2 separate regions of the Homo sapiens genome follow, and region 2 is linked to region 1. The links are contacts of gene promoters, found by promoter capture Hi-C in blood cells and fetal thymus (Javierre and others, 2016). All regions are on one chromosome and are shown on one strand. Each heading gives the region's core, a stretch centred on a gene start or on the middle of the fragment in contact. The rest is flanking DNA. Distances are from core to core; before and after follow the strand shown. Region 1 holds the start of KLHL31 (kelch like family member 31). Region 2 has its middle 42 kb from the start of GCM1.

What was found. Contacts are between HindIII fragments. The CHiCAGO score rates a contact against its expected background, and 5 or more counts as called.
Region 2: a contact is called between a fragment that was not itself captured here and the fragment with the promoter of KLHL31 in region 1, in 1 of 17 cell types (activated CD4 T cells). The highest score is 5.2, in activated CD4 T cells.

Annotation. Positions count from the first base shown.
Region 1 is chr6:53,664,403-53,668,594 of GRCh38, forward strand. It overlaps KLHL31 (kelch like family member 31), which reads right to left and starts at 1,354. Exons shown (of 3, transcript NM_001003760.5): 1 at 1,199-1,354. The HindIII fragment of the contact is 2,006 bases long and covers 894-2,899 here.
Region 2 is chr6:53,189,182-53,192,817 of GRCh38, forward strand. No RefSeq gene overlaps it. Among named protein-coding and RNA genes, the nearest start is that of GCM1, 42 kb to the left of the region's middle. The HindIII fragment of the contact is 1,652 bases long and covers 469-2,120 here.

The DNA.
Region 1 (4,192 bases), core at 104-2,603:
TATGTGTACTTTCCACACACTGGGCTCAGCGTTTTCATGAGATCCATAACCCGAAATAGATCCAAAATGACTGGACTGAGAATAATGCTGCCAAGCAATGGTACATAATTGGACCCTTGTCTGTAAGTGGGCAAGTCCATGTGAAAGTATTGCACTTAAATTCTTCCTGGCCCCAGCTGATCCCAGATGAAGACCCCCAGAACTGGTTATAGAAAAGAGTTGTTACTTCATATTTGAGAACATTTTCCTTCCCACTGCCCTGCACCCATGCTTCCTGGGAGTCCACAACAGGGTAAACTGGAAAGCCATGTGTGCTAAAGTGTCACTGTCACTCTCATGCCAGTATGAACTGGGATCCCAGAATGTCTTTTTGCCAAAGGGGCGAATCAGCTGCGCCTGCTCCCTGTCCTGGCCACATTCCTATCGCTGCATCTGTCGGGGCTCATCAGCCCTACCTCCAGGAATAGAAACCCTCCTGGCTTCTGTGGCTTGCCATTTTAAGTCCAACCTCGGGGTGGGGTGTAGGGGGGTGGTTTCCACTTCACCATTACACTTCCAACATGATTTTTAATATAAAATATATGTCAGCATAATGATATGTGCACATTTAAGACAAAAACCTATTTTTTAGCCAAATAACAAATTTTTTTTTTTTTTTAGGAAGGATATTTCCATTTCATCAATAGGTTATATTTCTGGGAATTCAGAGTTGTCTGAGTTTTGTGCTACAGATTTAGTTAAAACTGGTAACATTTCATCCAAACTGATCAGTAACAAATGTTAAAATGATTCTTGATAAAAATAAAGGTAGAATTCTAAACTTTGTGAACAAAGCCTAAGAATTTTCTCTCCTTCTCCTTCTCTATAAAGTAGTGAAAGAAAAATATATCTTAAGCTTTAGAGATTTAGAATTTTTGTTAGAAATTACAGGTGGTTTTACATTTGTAGGGCATCATTGTCATGCATTTTGTTACCGTGAAGTTCTCCTAACACGTTACATTTCTCAGATTTCAAAAAAATGTTTTCTGTCTCCCAACTTCAGATTAGGGACATGAACCACCTGACCCAGCTGTAGACTCCCTTCAGTAAAATAGCTCTACAACCACAAACACTCAGCCCACCCTCTCCCACCCACACATCCACACACACCCCAGGATCTAGAAGGCAGGAATTGGCGACTCTGGTCCCAGCTCCTTACCCTCCTTGGGTGAAGTGGCAGGTCAACTTGAGATGATGAAGTTTTAGCAGGAGACTCCTCTTGGGAAGGGATCTGTGGAGATAGAGAGAGGGAGAAGGAAAATCCGGTGGGGAGCCACCAGCAGCCACCTGACAAGACCCGGCTGCAGCAATTTTTAGAGTGACCCTTTGCCGTCCCACTGGATAAGGCAGGCCGAGCCTGCGCTTTGGCCCGGGAGCAGAGCAGCGAGCGCCCTCCTCTCCGTCTTTGGCCTTCAACTCTCCAGCCAGCCGGGGGCAGGGGGCGGGGCTCCGGTTGGTGGAGAGGGGTTGGGTTTCTTGAACTGACCAGCTGCTCAAAATGAAAAAGAAAAGAAAAGAAAAGAAAAGAAAGAAAGAAGGAAAGAAAGAAAGAAAGAAAGAAAGAAAGAAAGAAAGAAAGAAGGAAGGAAGGAAGGAAGGAAGGAAGGAAGGAAGGAAGGAAGGAAAGAAAGAAAGAGAAAGAAAGAAAGAAAGAAAGAAAGTCAAGAGCTCAATCAACCTGTGTGAGAGGAAAGAAAATTAATTCGATGGATGTTTAATTGTTGGAAGCAGGGATTCTAGTAGAGTAAGGAGAAGGGAAGGCTGTGGATTAAAAATTAGTTTTTGGAAAGGTAATTAGCCTGGTCACCTACGGTCTTTTGAGAAGATAGTGGTTATAAATAGCCTATTCTTTATAAGAGGAGCACGTATCTACCAGATATGGTACTTTCTACAGCACCTCACATGTGGTTCTAACATTATTAGGCTCATTTTAGAGTTTAATAAAGTGAGGTTTATGGCCAGCGATTTTCCAGTGATCACAGAGAGGTCTGAGATTAACACACACTCTAGCACACATGCAGGTTGGGAAATATCTACTTTGGCAACACTTCATGAGAAAAAAAATTCAATGATTATAATTGACTACAAATTTTAATGGGCACCAAGAGTGTGAAATGGTTGCTTAAAAAGTTAACATGATATTAAGCTACAATAATAGAAAAATAGATCATGGAAAATAAATGTTCTAATTATTCTTCATTAGTCAGATGATGTGTTAAGCATCACTTTGCTATCTTGGCACTCTGAGAACTTACTCTTCATCCTACAGAGATGGCTGGAACAAAAAAACTTCAGAGGCGGTGCATGTTGGAAACATCTGAAGAGAAGTATGACAAAGAGAGGACTTTTAAGATAAGTGAGACACCTGAGAGCAAGTGTTGTGGGGGCTGTTGTACAGCAAGAGGATTCAGTCAAAATTTCTGTAGCCTAAAATGTCAAAAATTTTAATGTGCAGTAATTCCGGGGAAATACCTTAAAATAAAGAAGAAGAGTGCAGATAACAGCTGGGCTCTAATGATGAAAATGGCAGCCTTGTAAAAGAGCCAGTTCTCTATAATTAGAAGGGTGGAAGTAAAAGAAGTTGCAGGACTGGTGTGACATTGAAGGGACTCTGTCTATGGCTGGGGGCTTGCACTGCATCATCTCTGAAATCTTTCCAACTCTAAGGCTCTGATTCTATATGTGCCAGTCTCCAGTTCACCTGAGACTCTCAATTCACTGGATAGCATCTGTCTATTGACTACTTCTGCTGGAATTCCCACCAATTTTTTAGTAGGAAAAACTATTTGGATTTTTTTTTTAATTCTTTGCTTCTACCCATAGATCTCCAGCACAGAAAGCGCCAGGAGCAAATCAAAGAAGCTTCTATTATGGTTTGCTTCTAAGAAATTCTACTTGGTCCCACCTCCTTGACTCAGGTAAAGGGTCAGAACCTTCCATCTTTGTTTGTTTGTTTGTTTGTTTTTTGTAGAGACAGGATCTCAGTATGTTGTCCAAGCTGGTCTCAAATTCCTGGTCTCAAGTGATCTTTCTGCCTTGGCCTTCAATCCCGTTTTAATTGTAATAAAAGTCAGCCTTATATCAGTATTTATGATAATGATGATATAATGATGGAAAGGGCCTTCAAGAAGATGTTGGTACCAATATTATCTTCTTCAAGGGTTCAAGACTATTAATTCCAGTTTTACTGGAACATCACTGAGATGCTCCTTTCAATATAATATAATGTTAAGATATGAACACAAGTGGAAGAATAAAAGGCAAAAAATGGAAAATCTAAGACACTTTAAAAATCATTTTCAGAGTAGCTAGTCTGTGTAACCATTCGACTACTGCTATGGTAGATACACTGGAAACACAGCATGGGACAGTAGGTTGTAGTGAATATTAAGAAATTTTGTCTTTGTCTTTAAAGCAATGAGTCTACCAATTGGAGCATATTTAATAAAAAAGAGGGTCATGATGAGATTGGCATTTTAGAATGAACATTCCGTAATTTGGGGATGTAACCTTAATGGAATTTAGATTTGTTTCTATTGCTAGTGCCTGTCTCTCTTCCACCAACCTCCTGATACTCTCTGCCATACAGCCAGTTCAAATGTAAGCTCCATGAAGGCAGGGATTTTTATCTGTCCTAACAGCAGACTTTCTCTCTTGGCTTTGATGAAGCCTAGTGCCAGGTTGGAGATGCCCAAGCAAGGAACATCCAGTTAGAAACTAAAGCCTTCAGTTCAATATCCCAAAAGACAGGAATCCTGACAATCATCATTTAGTGAACCTGGAAGTCAATCCTTCCCCAGTTAAGCCTTCAGATGAGGCCCCAGCCCTGTCTAACATCTTGATTGAAGCCTTGTGAGAGAGCCTAAAGCAGAGGACCTAGGGAAGCTCTGCCTCCATCCCTGATCCAAAGAATCAGTGAGATAATAAATGCATGTTGTTTTAAGCTGCTAAGTTATACAGCACTAGGTGACTAACATAGTATGCTTCTATTTGCCTTTTACTAATTTAATTCTTGCAGCATCTTTACCAGATAAAATTCCTGTTTTATATATAAGAAAACTAAGGCTGTTTTAACTTGTTCCAGATCATATGGCTGGTAAGGGATGGGGTCAGAATTTGGACCCAAGTTGTCAGGATCCCAGGTGTGCTCTCT
Region 2 (3,636 bases), core at 45-2,544, 480 kb before region 1:
CAAATGTCTTTATATTGATCCACAGTAGATCAACAGAATATATTTTTTAAAGACCTGTTCAAAGTTTTAGACAACTAGGGCCAGGCGTGGTGGCTCATGCCTGTAATCCCAGCACTTTGGGGGGCCGAGTTGGGTGGATCACAAGGTCAGGAGTTTGAGACCAGCCTGACCAATATGGTGAAACCTCGTCTCTACTAAAAATACAAAAAAAATTAGCCGGGCGTGGTGGCACATGCCGGTAATCCCAGCTACTCAAGAGGCTGAGGCAGGAGAATTGCTTGAACCCAGGAGGCGGAAGTTGCGGTGAGCCGAGATCATGCCACTGCACTCCAGCCTGGGCGACAGAGGGAGACTCCGTCTCAAAAAAAAAAACAACAAAAAAACACAAAACTAGATCATACAAAGTTAAAATATAACTTTCTTGAGAGTCATGATTATATTTAGCAACTTAAATCATTGCCACTGAAAAGCTTGGCTTCAGTTTTAAGCAACTAATCTAAAAGCTATGGCACAGAGCTTGCAAGGTGTGGGCTCTAAAGGGTTACATTACATAGCTAAATCATATAGTTGCTTGGCTGCCTTTATGCTAGACATCAAGTCAGGCAACTGGAATTCAACTCCTGGCAACCCCATTTACTACTTAGCTCTTGGACAAGTCACTTAATCTCCTTGCATTTCATCTGTAAAATAAAAATGATAATACATTCCTGCCTCATTCCACCACTAATGTAGGTGGAATAACATAAGTATGCAATAACTCTAAGACTCTAAGGCTCTGTGAAAATGTTAGTTATTTTTAACGTAAACTACAATAATGGTCAAAATGGCCAATATTGGCCAAAGCCACACAGGATCCTTCCCAATCCCTTGAAATCACCTTCTGATAACATTGTATATTATTATATTTTATATATTTCTAGTAGATGGACACCCACCTTCCACCCTCAAGTACACCCCAGCGCCTGTTGTTCACCACCTAGTGTCCATGTGTTCTTGATGTGTAGCTCTGACTTATAACTGAGAACATGCAGTATTTAATTTTCTGTTCCTGTATTAGTTTGCTTAAAATAACGATCTTGTTCTTTTTTTTTTTTTGAGATGGAGTCTGGCTCCATTGCCCAGGCTGGAGTGCAGTGGCACGATCTCGGCTCACTGCAAGCTCTGCCTCCCAGGTTCACGCCATTCTCCTGCCTTAGCCTCCAGAGTAGCTGGGACTGCAGGCGCCCATCACCACGCCCGGCTAATTTTTTTTTTTGTATTTTTAGTAGAGACGGGGTTTCACTGTGTTAGCCAGGATGGTCTCTATCTCCTGACCTCGTGATCCACCTGCCTCAGCCTCCCAAAGTGCTGGGATTACAGGCGTGAGTCACCGTGCCCAGCCAATCTTGTTCTTTTTTATTGGCTGCATAGTATTCCATGGTATATATGTAACCACATTTTCTATCTTTTTTTTTTTTTTTTGGAGACAGAGTCTCGCTCTGTTGCCCAGGCCTGGGCGACAAGAGTGAAATATGTCTCAAAAAAAAAAAATTAGCCAGGCATGGTGGAACATGCCTGTAGTTGCAGCTACTAGGGAGGCTGAGGCACAAGAATCATCTGAACCCAGAAGGCAGAAGTTGCAGTGAGCCGAGATGGTGCCACTATACTCCAGCCTGGGCAATAGAGCGAGACTCTGTCTCAAAAAAAAAAAAAAAAAAAATAGAAAATGTGATTACATATATACCATGGAATACTATGCAGCCATAAAAAAGAACAAGATCATGTCTTTCACAGCAACATGGATAGAGCCAGGGCCATTATCCTAAGCAAACTAATGCAGGAACAGAATATTAAATACTGCATGTTCTCAGTTATAAGTGGGAGCTACGCACAAGAATACATGGACACTGGGAGGTGAACAACAGGTGCGCTAGGGCATACTTGAGGGTGGAAGGTGGGAGCAGAGAGGGGATCAGAAAAAATACCTATTGGGTACTATGTTCATTGCCTGGGGACAAAATTTTCTGTACACCAAACCCCTGTGACACACAATTTACCTATTTAACAAACCTGCACATGTACCATAAACCTAAAATAAAAGTTAAAAAAATGGGAGAAAGAGAGAGAAAAGAATCTGGTAAAGCTTTCTTTTTCTTTTTTTTTTTTGAGAAGGAGTTTCGCTCGTCGGCCAGGCTGGAGTGCAATGGCACCATCTCAGCTCACTGCAACCTCTGCCTCCTGGGTTCAAGCAATTCTCCCACCTCAGCCTCCTGAGTAGCTGGGATTACAGGCGCCTGCCACCACCATGCCCAGCTAATTTTTTTTTGTATTTTTAGTAGAGACGGGGTTTTGCCATGTTGGCCAGGCTGGTCTCAAACTCCTGCCCTCAGCCTCCCAAAGTGCTGGGATTACAGGCGTGAGCCACTGCACCTGGCCTCTAGGTGTATATACTTCGGTAAATAAATATTGATATTCATATGCATTAAAATCCTTGGAAGAATAAAAAAGAAACTTGTTTTAGGAAGGGAATGCTGGGTAGATGGGGGACAAGTGTAGAAAGAAACTTCACTCTGTAATTTTCTCTTAGTTTTTTTAGACATAGGAATGAATTACACATTCAAACATTTTTAAAAATAAACAATTTGGCTGGGCGCGGTGGCTCACGCCTGTAATCCCAGGATTCTGGGAGGTCGAGGTGGGTGGATCACCTGATGTTAGGAGTTTGAGACCAGCCTGACTAACATGGTGAAACCCTGTCTCTACTAAAAATACAAAAAAAATTAGCCAGGCATGGTGGCGCATGCCTATAACCCCTGCTACTTGGGAGGCTGAGGTAGGAGAATCAGTTGAACCTGGGAGGTGGAGGTTGCAATGAGCCGAGATCGCGCCACTGCACTCCAGCCTGGGCAACAAGAGTGAAACTCCGTCTCAAAAAAAAAAAAAAAAAAAAAAAAAAAAAAAAAAATAATAATAATAATAATTTAAATATGAAATGAAAGTAACTCTCTTCTAAAATTCTTATAGTGTGGTTTCTTGGTGGCCACCAAAACCCTTGTCACAACTAGCTCTGGGAGTTGAAGATGTATAGGAAGATAAGTGGTTTATTTTGCTATTTAATCAACTTTAAGTCTCTAACAAGTATACTTTGATTTAATGAAAATGGCAACTCAGCAAAGGATTTAGGGCTGTAATTCAGGATGAAACAAACAGGTTGTGATGAGGAAACTCCCCTGCCTGAGGGGTGTCCTGAGAGGGTCAGAGGCTCCAGTCTAGTGAGATAGGAAAGGAAATGCATTTGCCAAAACGGAATTTAAATTTTTTTTTAACTCTTATTTTAGATACAGGGGATACATGTAGATTTGTTACATGGGTATATTGTGTGATGCTGAGGATTGGGATACGGATGATCCCATCACCCAAGTAGTGAGCATAATTTTTCAAACCTTGTCCCCTTTCCTGCCTGCATCCAAAATAGAAATTTGAAAATAATTCTCCACACACTGCAGTGGATGTTGGCAAGGGAACACCATTGTTTCCTACTTAACCCTTGCTGGATGTGTTTAAGAGTTCTTACCAGATTGCTGGCAGCAAAAACACTAATGTATTCATTCATTTACTTAGATCAATACAGTCCGATTCTTTGCCAAAACCCCTGTG